Regions from separate parts of the Homo sapiens genome. Here region 2 is linked to region 1. The links are contacts of gene promoters, found by promoter capture Hi-C in human tissues and cell types (Jung and others, 2019). All regions are on one chromosome and are shown on one strand. Each heading gives the region's core, a stretch centred on a gene start or on the middle of the fragment in contact. The rest is flanking DNA. Distances are from core to core; before and after follow the strand shown.

Region 1 (6,611 bases), core at 1,789-4,288:
GTGCTGCCTGGGACTGCCAGGGTTTCGCACCCCTTGGTTACAAATGCAATTTCCAAAAATAAAAGATATGTAGATACACATAGATTGGTAGCATGGATACCATGAACTAGTGTGGCCTAGTGCAGAAAGCTCCCAGCAGGCCTGAAATTCTGAGGATTCAGGCTATGTGGTCTCCAGGAGTTGCCGCTCAGGGAAAACCCCACCCCCAGGCAGACATATTCGAATCAAAATTTAATTCCAACATTGTCATGATAATAAATAGAGCCCAGGGGCTTCCAGGCAGGTGGGCGATCAGGGCCCCTAGGCCATAGGGTGCCTCTGTTCAAATTAGAAAAAGGCGCCCCCTCAGGGCAGACTCAGCCCAGCTGCCAGGGGACAAGTCCTGGCTAACGGGAGCTGGAGCTGGGTTTCACCTCCAGGTGCCTCCTTGGCGGGGCGCCCCGTGCAGGCTACAGCCTACAGCTGTCAGCGCCGGTCCGGAGCCGGAGCGCGGGAATCACTCGCTGCCTCAGCCCAAGCGGGTTCACTGGGTGCCTGCGGCAGCTGCGCAGGTGGAGAGCGCCCAGCCTGGGAGGCAGTAGTACGGGTAATAGTAGGAGGGCTGCAGTGGCAGAAGCGAGGGTGGCCGCAGCACTTCGCCGGGCAGGTATTGTCTCTGGTCGTCGCGCACCAGCACCTTTACGGCCACCTTCTTGGCGGCGGGCGCCGAGGCCAGCAGGTCGGCTGCCATCTGCCGGCGCTTTGTCTTGTAGCGACGGTTCTGGAACCAGATTTTCACCTGCGTCTCGGTGAGCTTCAGCGACGCGGCCAGGTCTGCGCGCTCGGGCCCGGACAGGTAGCGCTGGTGGTTAAAGCGGCGCTCCAGCTCGAAGACCTGCGCGTGGGAGAAAGCGGCCCGCGAGCGCTTCTTGCGTGGCTTGGGCGCCGCCGGCTCCTCCTCCTCCTCCGCGACGCCTGCCGGCCCGCTGCCGCCCCCGCCGCCGGCCCCGCTGCACAGCGCGGACACGTGTGCACCTCTGGGGCCAACACCGTCGTCCTCGGTCCTTGGGCTGCGGTCGCCTGCGGACCCCGGTGGGAACAGAAACAAGAGACTGTCAGCGCCACAGACGAGGTGAGGCCGGGCCTCAACTGCAGGGGTCACGGGAGTGGGGCGGAAATACACTTTGATCCCACTCAAGCGGAGCGGAGGTCTGGGAGGCCCTGGGCCCGGGAGACCAGTCTTAGACTCTTGCCCCACTGGGTATCCCATCTAGGCCTCTTCTGGGGAGGGCGGCAGACTCAGCCGCTGTGTCAACGCTGTGTTGTCGAGACCAGCTCCCCACCCTCTCTGGGCCCCAGGCTCCCCTCAGTAACTTGGGGCACTCGACCCGAGCATCCGCGAAAGCCCTCCCGGCTCTCAGCGTTGAGCATTGGGATTCTAGACTGCATTTCCGTCTCTCTGCTTGGGTTCACGCGCCTCTCCACACTTAGTTCACACGCACACACGCGCGCGTCCTCGCAGCACACACTTGTCTGGTGCAGGTAAGGGAAGGTGGAGGCGGATCCTGGGGCCAAAGGTATTTAGAATCTTTCACCCTCAGCCGCCTGGGATTGCTGTGAGAGACATGGAAACAGGCTGAGCCGAGGCCTTAGATGAGAGGATGGACTGGAGAGTAAAGAGGGAGGGTTGCCCCTGCATCGAGTTTTTGGACCCTGATCCCACACCAGCTTCTCGGTCTCGTACCCGCCCTTCCGAAGAACTCCAGCAGAAAGGTCCAGCGGTCCCCTGTGCTTGAGGCCTACAGAAGCTTGTACCCAACTAGGGCAGGCACCCGGGTCTTCCAGACCACAGGACAGGACAGGCCACGGCTGAGGAGGCCTCTCTCCTGCCTCCAGGATGAACTAAAGACCCAATCCGGGATCTTCGGCCTAGGGCTGCTCTCCCAGACCTGGGGTCTGAGAAAGCCAAACCAGCCCTTTCCCCAAAGCTCTAGTTCTGCAGATTCTCAGCTCTGGCCCACTCGGAGGTGTTCTTCACCACCTATCCACCTACTGTGGGGCCCGGCCCTGGGACCTTGAACTGGCAGGTCTCTGGTCCAGAGCTAGGTCACTGGCTACCTGAGGTCTCTGAACCCCTCACTTTTCCGCTTCCCTGATTTTGGGGATTTGGGGACAGACACGGCAGAAAGCACTGGCGACGAACTCAAAAACTCCCGAACGCAAGGGGCAGCGGTTCTCCCAACCCAGTCTAATGCACATTGGCCCAGGATGTCTCAGGCCTCACCCCAGGACGTAGGGCTCTGAGGAGCTACTCCGGTCTCTCGCGGGCTCAGTTCCCGAAGTGATAGAGCAGCTCGCGCCAGAGCGCAGAACTTCGGGATTTGGCCAGCCTCCGAGCCCCAGGGCGCAGGGTGCTCAAGCCGACCACCCCACTCGGCGTGGTTGCCCTCCGCGTCCATCCCCTCAGCCCGGCCCCCATCCCCGCGAAGCCGCAGCAGACCTGAGACGCTGGCGGACATCTCGCTGTCGCTCCGGCCCGCGGCTTCCTCCTCTAGGTCTTTGGAAGCGGCCAGCTCACAGACCGGCTGGCCGAGGCTCAAGGATCCCCCCGCAAGGCCGGCCCCGCTGGCCCCCCGCGCGTCCGCGCAGCGCCGCCTGCTCTCGTTCTCCTCGCTGAGCGCGGAGTCCGAGTCCCAGCCTTCCGGGCTCTCCGCAGTCCGCCCCGCAGCTGTTCTGGTACCGGCAGGAGACGCCAGCAGAGAGTCCTCGGCGCCCCCCAACGCGCCCGCGTCCCTCTCCCCAAAGAGCCGCCAACAGCAGACAGCGGGAGCCGCGGCCACCGATGCCGCTGTGCCCCCGGGCGCCGGGCGCCCCTCTGGCGCGGCCAGCCCGCCGCGCTCCTCTTTCTTGTTGAGGATCGCCTGGATGGAGAAGGACGTCAAGGTGTTGGCGCCGCGCACAGCCATCTGCGCCGCGGGCAGGAGCGGCCGGCGGGGCGGGCAGCTGGGGCGCCGAGCAGCTCCGAGCGGGACAGAGAGCGCCGGCGGCCGCAGCGCGAGTGAGCTGGGTGTGCGAGGCCGCCGCCGCCCACTGCTGCGCGGCCCAGCAGCTCCCGCCCCACTCCGTCCCAGGATCAGCGCCGACCCTCGCCCCCACCTTAGAGGCCCACCCCGCCCGGAGACCCCCTCCCCCCGAATCCAGAGCCAGACGCTCTCCTTTCGCAGCTCAGCTGGATTATCTCATCGCTTCTCGCCCTTAGGGGCGGGCTGGGGTCTGCCCCCTCGGGGGACGTGAAGGAGGATTGGCGGGGGCCCCTCCGTGGCAGCAGTCCCCTCCCGAGCGCCGCCGGGGCGCACAGCCCGAGTCACTTTTTCTTTGCGCGTCTGTCCCTTCCTCGCCTGCAGGATTTCGCTCCTGGCCCGTCCTCCCCTTCCCTGCTGGGCAGGCTCTTCCGGAGCCCACCCCCGGCGGCGGCGGCGGTAGCCGCGGCCGCGGCCGCTGGATTCCGAGAGGCGCGGGGAACTTTTTTACCCCCTGCCCTGGTTTTATCTGTTTCTTTTCTCTTTCCTTCCCTTGCGTTCCACTGTACCACCCCCCTCCCGCCCGGGTGTCATTCCTCACTGCTGAGTGACAGCCTGAGGCCACACCCCTCCACTGGGCTGTCCCGGGCGCTCCCGGCCGTCCATTGGCTGGCTCCAGTTGGGCGACGTTGACTTTAACAGACAAAACTGGGCACGTTGCGCCGCTAAAGACAGGGTCTGACTTAACCCCTTCTCTCCTAAGCCTGGTCCTCGAAGCACCCTCCAGCAACAAGGAGGCTCATCCGACCCAAACCACGTTTCTTACCTCTGCAGATGTATCCACTTATTCCAGCGCTTTAACAGAACACTGATACTAAGTTGAGTCAAATCTGCGGAGAAAATCCAAGATAATGCAGTTCCATAAATCATGCTCGTAGTTTCTGTTCTCTAGGAAGGATTATAAACACGAAGAACAAAATGCATCCTTTTTTTTCTCCCTACAGTTTCGCCGCTTCTTCATTGCTAATGCTCTTTGCTGAAATGATCAGTTAATTAAGATCACTCTAGAAATATTTTTCTTTCCTCGTCGTCTTTGATTTGATTCGATTTTTATAGAGGAATTATAAAAAAATGGTATAGTTAGAACTAAAGTCAGGAGAAGAATTGAAAGGCATCTTTGGGAGAATTTCTGTAAATTTTATGGTCGTTTCCCTGGCAGACCAATATTGAATTTAATTGGAGTTTGTTAAGTTTTGCATCAGGAAGAAAAAAAAAACTTTCAATTTGTTTTTTTTAAATATCTCTTACTTGTGAGTTGAATAAAATTATAAATAGATATGTTTGTTTGCTTAGAAGTATACCTAGGAATTACCATAAAGTGATCCAGAAGTGACAACACTTTTTGCTCTTTAAAAAATAAGAAATGCATTGTATTATGTAATAGTAGGAACCAAGCTAAGAAACACAAATATTGTGGGTATATAAAAACATTTTAAAATGTGTTATTCCTTTTTTAATATAAAATTTGCTCAATTAACGTACTTCACTGTTTTCCATAAACTTTACCAGAGAGTTAACACCAAATACACAAACTTGAACCATTAAATACATTTAAAGGACTATGATTTTAATTTATTAAATTGCTAGGATTGGTAGTTTTGGTGTCATTAAAATAAATAACATCTCCCCTTGTTGCTTTCTTTTTGGTTGTTCTTTTTCTGCACCGCAGAAGGAAATACACTGACTATTCATAGTTCTCAGTCTCAGAATGAGGTTTTGCAGCATCTATACTTTTCAGCATTTCGGTTACATGATGCTTTCTTGCTTTGTGCAAACCTTGTAGGGTACCTGGGAAAAAACATCCACTTGAGGTCATTGCCCTTTACAGCTCTTTACAATTACATCAGTTTTGAAGGAACGCCATTTAAATTTGGTGTCAGTGCTCAGCAAGTGTAAGGACGCAGAGTGGAACAGCAGAATGCTTACAGTCTTTCAAAAACAGTGTGTCCTCTCCTCCCCCGCTGTATTATTTAAATTACCGTTCTCCTCACTTCGGGCAGGGATGTTGGGAATTATGTATAGTGAGGAGATTGACACTGGTTGCCTGGAAGGTAGGGGACGGGCAGGTATGGGTTTGGTGTCCCGTACAGCGATCGCTTTGTGGGTTTAGTACTTGGTGCTGACAAATAATGGAGTGAGATCCGAACATAAAGGCAGGCAGAGATGTTTTGGGGCTGAATCACCGAATACTAGAGTAGGTTTGGGGCTACGTAAAGACTTGCTTGAAAACAACTACCATTTAGTTGCGAATCCCTCCCCTCTTCCCTTTGATTCGATGTTTAAAAAGAATCCCAAATCACAGTTGGACATACTCCTGCCACAGCCTTGGGCAGAAGTCTTCAAAGCATGAAAAGATGTGGTTTGGCGACTTTGAGTTGTCGGGTATTTTTGTGTCCCAGGAGTGTGAGAAAGGGGCTACGTTCCGCGTCTTCCGGAGGCGCACAGCAAGGGAGTCTCCTGGTGTCATCTCGGGCCATTACGGCGCTTAGTCGATCATTAGGTCTGTGGGTGACTGTAGGCAGAGCCGGGAGTTGGGTGCTTGGCGCGGAGGGTGAACTCGCGGGTCTTGAGCTGCAACTAGAAGCTGCTCCTAGCAAGGGGTCGGGTGGAGATGAAAAGACTGTGGGGAAGGGGAGGTGGTTGTATGCCCAGAGATATCCCGGCGTAACTACGGAGTCCAGGCCCAGAGTGGCGGTGTGTGGCGAAGGCGCAGCAGGCCTGCGCCTGTCGGAGGACGGCAGATCTGGACGCGACCGCGCGGGCGTGCCTGGGTCCCGCTTCCTGCCCATCGAGGGCGACTTCCTTCGGGCTCAGCTGTGAGCTCCAGGAACTCTGCAACCTCCCGACGGGCGCCACGCTCCGGCTTGGGCCGGCCCGGGAGTTGGCGGAGCTGCGCGGCCCGGCCGGGCGGCCGGTGAGGCTTTCGAGAGGCACCGGGCTCGCTCAGCGTCCGCGCCTCTCTACCCCGCCGCGCCCCCTCCGCGCCCACGGGCCCATTTTTTCCTAGTCTTCTGCCTCTCTTCCTTCTTCCTCCCTCCCCTCCTCCTCCACACCTTTGTCTTCTTCCTCCTCCCTCCTCCTGCTTCTCCTCCGCAGTTTGGATCCTACGGGCCCCCTACGTGCCGCGCCCTTCGGTCCCCGGAACCGCCCGGGCTGGGGGTGCTGCTGCGCGGTGAGACTTCCGCGGGCGGCGGGCGGAGAGCGGGATTTGACTGCGAAAGCCAAGGGGGCGGGGAAGGGGAAGCCCCGGCCCTCGGGGGCGCGCAGTAAACTGCTGCACACGTGCCCGCGCTCCCGAGGGGGGCGCCCAGTGGGCTCGGGATTTCCTGGCTGCGCCACCGCGCGCCTCGCCCCCGACGCCCGCCACCTGTGCCCTGGGCCGCCTTCCCTGACGCCAGCGGCCGGAGGTCGCGCGCGCCGGGTGCTGCCCAGCAACGAAAGGCCATGCGGGGTTCGTCCCTCAGATGCCGGTGACCTTGATTGAAGTCACCTGCCTTCTCTAGCTTCCAGTCCTTTAAAACGAGGGTTTGGACCCGGTGCCTTCTGAACCCG
Region 2 (6,596 bases), core at 3,848-6,347, 64 kb before region 1:
ATAATGTGATTGTCAGCTACTATCGGATATGGCAAACATAGTCAAAAAATTACGTTTTCAAATTTAACCCACAAAATAGAAACGCATTTGATAGCCCTATTCAGAACAAACGTAGGATACATACCATGTATATCACTAAATATTACAATGCTTTCAAACCTGTTCAAAGTATTTCCATTTAAACAAACTATGTATACTTCCAAGCCTTCACAAAATACTGTAACTAATCATCTTCCCCATACAAGCATTGTAAAAGCATTCTAAAAGGCAATCTTTAAAAATCCTTTTGTGCATTTTATAAAATATTTGGTTGATACAAAAATTTATGAGATAAGCTATTCTCCCTTCTCAATGCAACTGATGAGTAAGCTTACAAAAGCCAAACTATGCTTTTTAGTTGAACATTTTAAACTATTCCCCTCATATAATTATGCAGTTTTCTCCAGTTTCAATTAGCACTTTTTGAATGATTTGCAAATCAAAAGAAAATAAAAGATTAGAAACTGAAAAATGATCTCATTTCAAAAAAAGATTATAAAGATATAAATTTATAAGCCAACATAAAATACTAAAATCAGAGAAAGTTAGTCATACCATTTAACTATGCAACTGAAAAGAAAAAGACATTTGATTAACCAGCACAGTTTTCTAAATTTTGGTGGGTTTGTATTACAATCTTTCCATTATTTAAACATAGGTTGTTCCATCTGCCACTGCGCAGAGGATTTCCATGAGGAACTTCCATTAGCATTAATGAGCGCTAATGTTTTATCACCATCATTACCACAGACACACACTTTCAACACTTAGACTAATGACTAAAATGTTCTTAAAGCCCTATGAATATGAAAACCAAAATGTCACAGACTAAGATTTGTCCAAAAACTTGTACAAATCGAATTTCTCAAAAATCTAAATTTTTTGAGATTCAAGGCTGAATTCTTCTATAATGCTGTCTCAAATGAAGCAGATGAGAAAGGGCTAGCCATCACTAAGAAGTATATAAACTAGTTTCAGAAACCCCTAAGCAGGCAGTAGTCTATTCATTTTACTTGCACAACTCTTTAGGGTTATTTGATTACTTCAAAAGACAGTGCTTAACAATACTAACTTTTACAGAGTAAGATTTTAGGCAATACTTAGTAAGTGCTAAAAGGTGTTTAATCCCATTTTTCTCAGAGCCAATGGTCCTTATTGCTTAACCTCACATCAAGAAATATAAAGCTTTTTTAAGTTCTGATATTCAGATCCTATCTGAATTAGGTGTTGTGAACACTTTGACTGTAATTTTAGGAACATGATCTTCATTACATGTTTTCAAATTCTGACTACAATCATATCAAGACCCTAAATCATCTATCTATCCAACTGTCTCCCATCTAAGAGGTTCATAGTCATGTGTTGAGGATACTTTTTAAATGCATGCCTTTCTAAATAAACCCTGTTATCAGTGTTTGCCTGTTTTTTTTAACATACAAATTCCAGTGACTCAGAAATAAAAATAGCTATGAATTACTGATAGTCCACTAATATAGAATGCTAACAAAAAATGACTATCTTTAGTTTCAATAAATGATATTTTAATATTACTTCTTATATCTAGAAATATATTTTTAACTCCACATTTTAATTTTAGGATTATTAACACATAAAACTAAAAATAAAATGTGGATTCCTTATTTGAGGAGCAAAATCCCATGAGGATATGATTCAAATCAATATTCATTTTCATTTTTGCAGGCATAAACATATGAATTCTCCTAGTATATTTTCAAGATGACATACCTATAAAGCTATATAAGAATATTCAAATAATATTATAATTTTGTTTAAATCAAGAATATATCTAATACAAATTTCTAACCAATAAAGAACATTAAGGAAATTGTCAGAAATCTAATCCCAAACACAAAATGCTGCAAAATTCCTGTTCCTCTGTAAGAAATGACATGTAACTAGGAGAAAAAATAAAATAAATGAGGTGACAAAACACAGGTAAGTTGCTTTTGGTATGAATTAAAGCCACCAAGAGGGTTCAACAGTGACCTTGTAAAAGTACACTTGGTGCCTTGGTTAACCTTACTTAAAGTGCTGCATAGTCAAGATGGAACTAAAAACACAAGTCTGCCCACTTCTTGTACTAAAGACTTAGAAATCTTTTTCACAGTAGAACGCTGTTTACTGGACTGTACCCACAAGCTTCCTGAAAGTATTTTGACTAAGGCTCTTAAGAAGCTCTATCAGCAGAATCTCTGACTAACAGATACACTATTTTAAGCAGTAAAATCTGCACAGTGGTTGCATCCAGACTATACAGCATACCGGATCATGAAATATACTAAAATGGATGAGTATTTGCAAAGTAATGATCTTGAAAACTTGCATGAAGAGAATGTAAATAGATGGACAGGAGGTTTACACCCCTAACAATCTAACTGGTCAGAGGACTTACCAGACTAGTAACAAATATTAGATTCACCGACTATGCTATAAATTCAATAAAGCTACCTGTAATGTTTTATTCAGCTAATGATACATTAATCATCCTACATGTGACACTTATAATGAATGTACATTAAAGTATATAAAGGATAATTATAAACCTTGTAATTTATTCACCTCATTTCTTAATATACCTATTAATTATATAAAAACAAAATACATTAAAATATTTTTTCTTATTGAAATTTCTACCATAAGTTTGAGTCTGTTAAGTAGCATAAAACCAACTGCCTTAAAAAAAAAATAGAAGTTTTTTTCTGGAACTTTGCCATCAAAATAAAAACTTAATTAGGAAAATTAAAATATACATTCATTAGTATACATGCCCTAATGTCATTTTTTAACCTAATTACTAAGTCTAAAATATTATACTATAAATCTCGATTTCAAGAATATCAAATATTTTTTACAAAGTAATCAAAATTTTTAAATTGGTAGTGCTGGGCCACAGGTCAGAAATCATCATATCACCTGTATAAAATGTCTGAAAACCAGTCTTTGTTTTTAATATTTGAGTAGGTACTTGTTTATTTAAGCTTTTCAACTAAAAAATGAGAAATAATAAAGTAATGAGACAAGAAGTTGGTGGCTTTTCAAATTAAGCATCAAAACAAAATAGCTAATAATGAAATGCCACATTTGAGATTCTCTGTGTACAACTGGCATCTGTGAAAAAAACTCCTGCAAAAATAAGCTTCCAGCATCTGTATTATGTGATCTGTGTATGTATTCAGCTAGTGACTGCTGTTAAGTATTCTGAATGCAGCATAGATTATCCGTAAGAGTGAGAATAATAAAATTAAAATGACATTTTCAGTTTTGGATACAATAAAAGAAAATACAAATGAAACAAAGTACGCATATGTTTCTCCTTAAACCTCTTGCTGAACAATAACCCAGTAATGGAAAAATTGGAATTCTTTTTTTTCTCATGGGATATCTCCTAATCTATTTTTCACTGGTAGCCAAATACAAACTATCACAAAATATAGCAGAGTATATTACTAAGGAGATAAGAAGAATACCTCCATTACCAAGAGTTTTCATTACCTACTCTAAAACTTTCATGGGGAGTTGTCTGATAGATGGGGTGTCTGAGAGGTTAACATATTTCAATAATAATTGGAATGTATTAAACCCCTTCCCACTGTATCACTCACATTTCAGTACATGAATCTGACATTACACTTGCAACCATTTTCTCCAAATGTGCTTCCTCACAGAGGAGAGAGATGGATGGTTTATAAAGTCAATCAAGATAAACTGCTTTTAATAAAATACTTTAAACATATAATTTAACCATTGAAATTGAAAGGACAGCATTTTAAAGCCCCAATTGTTCAGAAACTAACTTAAAACATAAACCACTCTTTCTTTGTTATTATTTCCCCGTATTTCCCACAAAATGTGCTGCAACTGGCATCTAAATAGTTTCTTTGCATGGTGAAGTGAAACATCTTGAATGCTCAAACTGTATTTTTATGAGTGCCTAGGGACCCTAAATTTTAGTGGTCTATTAAATGCCAGCAATTTCATGCTGCCTTGCATAAAACAGCATTCACATATTAGAGCACAGAAGTTCCATAGCTACATTATACTTCTGTTCCAACTTTAAACAAAAAACTAAAACAGAGGCAAATCAAAATAATATTTTAAAAAATAATCCTTCCCAATCTTTTCACATTTTGTTAATACAATATCTGTTGACAAATGTACAGCACTTAATTTTTTAAAAGCTTTTCACAATTTTATAAGCAACCATTGTTTATCCTCAAAAAATGTATAGTAGCCAAAAACAGGGAAGGAGTGGGAGAGTATATAAACTTTTTCTTATACCCATGGACAATATGCTTTCATGATAGATTGTGATGAAAGTTAACATCCCTAAGATAAATTTACTGTTTATATACATCTTCATGTAGAAGCAGCCCCAAAATTTTACACATTTCTTTCTTATGCCACTTATTGTTAAGATTTTTTTATAATCTTCTACGTTAAGACTTTTTAGTCTCTTACCTGGCAATGTTATCCTTCTCAAAAAGAAATCCAGTCCTATAGTTTGTTTGTACTGTTTCCCAAAAGTTTCTTGAGCAAAACACGTAGTTAAGGAGGTCTAAAAAATTGATGCACAGAATGTCAAAATTAATTCATTAAAGAAATGTAATCATAAGACCACTATAAATCTTAAGCAATCTTAACATGTATATTGCAATTAATCCAACAAGCAAATTTAAGCAGTTCTAATCAGTTACAAGGAGGGGAGAGACTTAACACCACCAGGTAAATTTTACTTGCCAGCAGCTATCGGTAGGGACAACGAACTAATGAGTTAGATCTCTTTAAATCCCCTGCTTGTCAAGATCCTTTTCCTTGCTGAAAATTAGAATTTGAGAGTTATCAACAGAAAAAAAAACTAAAAAATAAATAAATAAAGATCTGAATTATTTTAAAACATAATTAAAGATCTAATCTAACTTAGATCAGCTTCTGAGGTTAAATATTCTGAGGGTAGCTGAGCACTAAGCTAATAATAAGAAGCATTCATTAAGGAGGGAGAAATCTGCTTACAGAATTTTTCTTTTTCCCACAAGAAAAGCACCGTATGTAATTTTTCTTTATTTTTAAAGATGCTAAATGAAAATGACCCTAAAGAAAGACTGTGACAATATGTACCTCTTAAATAAACGTATTTTTAAGATTAATATAAAGCAGACAAAATGAATATTTTCCATCCAAGAACCATAATGCCAAGAAGTCACAAGCTATCATAACCAGAACAGATATACATTTGTTTTTTAATAGAAACTGAAAGTTTTAGTCAAAAACTCTGGAGTTTTCTTTTTAAAGTACCATTTCTTATCAAAGCAAAAGAATAATTATTCTAGTAACAACTGAATAACAATAACTTAACAAATTCTTAAACATTTTAAATGCACTATTTTTATTTATAAACTTCCTCCAAAAAAGAGAAAGGCAACTTCACTAAGCTTTTATGCTCTTCAAGACAGACTCCCTACTTTAAGAGAAAATAGCCGTTTTTTATTTTAAAAGTTAAAATTACATGTCAACTCTTAAAATAATGAAAACTAAGATAAATTTCCAAGATAGCTTATTACAGTTCCTTATGACATAAGCAGTACAATAGTGCAAAAGAAAATTTGGCCAAACTTCAATTCCTTTTAGCAAGATCATCTAAAATTCCTTTTACACAGAACCATATTTTTCACACAAATGGCAATTTGGACACCATAACTCCAAATATTTTTGGGTTTAAATACCCAGCATTTGTAATAAATTTCGAAGATAATTGGCCAAGTATTTGTTGAGCACTACCATATAAAGGGTATTCTGCTAGACATCTAGAAACAAACACATTTGTTATATTTTTGACACATGTAACACTATCAAAACTGAGAGATCAGAATTGAAAAGATAGGTATTTCTTTTTACAGACCATTGTTTCTCATCTACACTATATTATTCTACTGATCTTATCTAACTTAGACCACAAAATCATCTTTGAAGAGGTTCAGAATTCTAGAAAAAAATAACTATCACTACTTATACTATTACAGATATTTCAAAATATTTAATAGACTGATGGTTGAAATACTTAAAGGTCAAAGAGAAACTGAAGGCATGTGTAACATTCACGTAATGTCATTTGAGATAATTTTTCACTTTAAAGAATCTCAGAGTTCAATATTTTCATGTTAAGGAATATTCAGAAAAATTCTAAGAAAGTTTCTTTTCCTGAAAAAGTGACTTCTAGATTTTGAAAGCCCTGCTTTCACACTTTTGAGGCAAACATAAAGCTAGGATTTTCAACTGGAATCGAGTGTAAACTGTCAAAAATACAGGTTACTGGGAACATACAGAGTATTAAAGTAAGTTCTTACTATATCATCTCCCGATGTCTTGAGATAAAAATTGAACAGAGAATCAACTGAATCAGTGGGGGTCACTTTCTCTTCACTTATCTAGACTGCATGCTATCTTTCACATTCAATAATTTCTCAAGTCACTGTATAAATACCCTTCTTAATTACAGGTATTAAGTGAACAACTAGCTCCCATATCAGAAATATTTTTAT

What was found. The method cuts DNA at HindIII sites, captures the fragments that hold promoters and counts their contacts. A contact is called where the count stands out against the background at its distance.
Region 2: a contact is called between a fragment that was not itself captured here and the fragment with the promoter of NKX3-2 in region 1, in 2 of the 25 tissues and cell types used here (hippocampus and neural progenitor cells).

The regions. Positions count from the first base shown.
Region 1 is chr4:13,541,470-13,548,080 of GRCh38, forward strand. It overlaps NKX3-2 (NK3 homeobox 2), which reads right to left and starts at 3,039. Exons shown (of 2, transcript NM_001189.4): 1 at 2,480-3,039; 2 at 1-1,059. The coding sequence starts at 2,945. The coding sequence ends at 524. It overlaps LINC01096 (long intergenic non-protein coding RNA 1096), which reads right to left and starts at 6,355. Exons shown (of 1, transcript NR_015450.1): 1 at 4,607-6,355. RefSeq lists silencers at 835-964, 5,882-6,001, 6,192-6,491 and enhancers at 5,165-5,665, 5,666-6,166. The HindIII fragment of the contact is 14,287 bases long and covers 92-6,611 here.
Region 2 is chr4:13,474,912-13,481,507 of GRCh38, forward strand. It overlaps RAB28 (RAB28, member RAS oncogene family), which reads right to left. Exons shown (of 7, transcript NM_001017979.3): 2 at 4,519-4,615. Among named protein-coding and RNA genes, the nearest start is that of RAB28, 6.1 kb to the right of the region's middle. The HindIII fragment of the contact is 3,960 bases long and covers 3,118-6,596 here.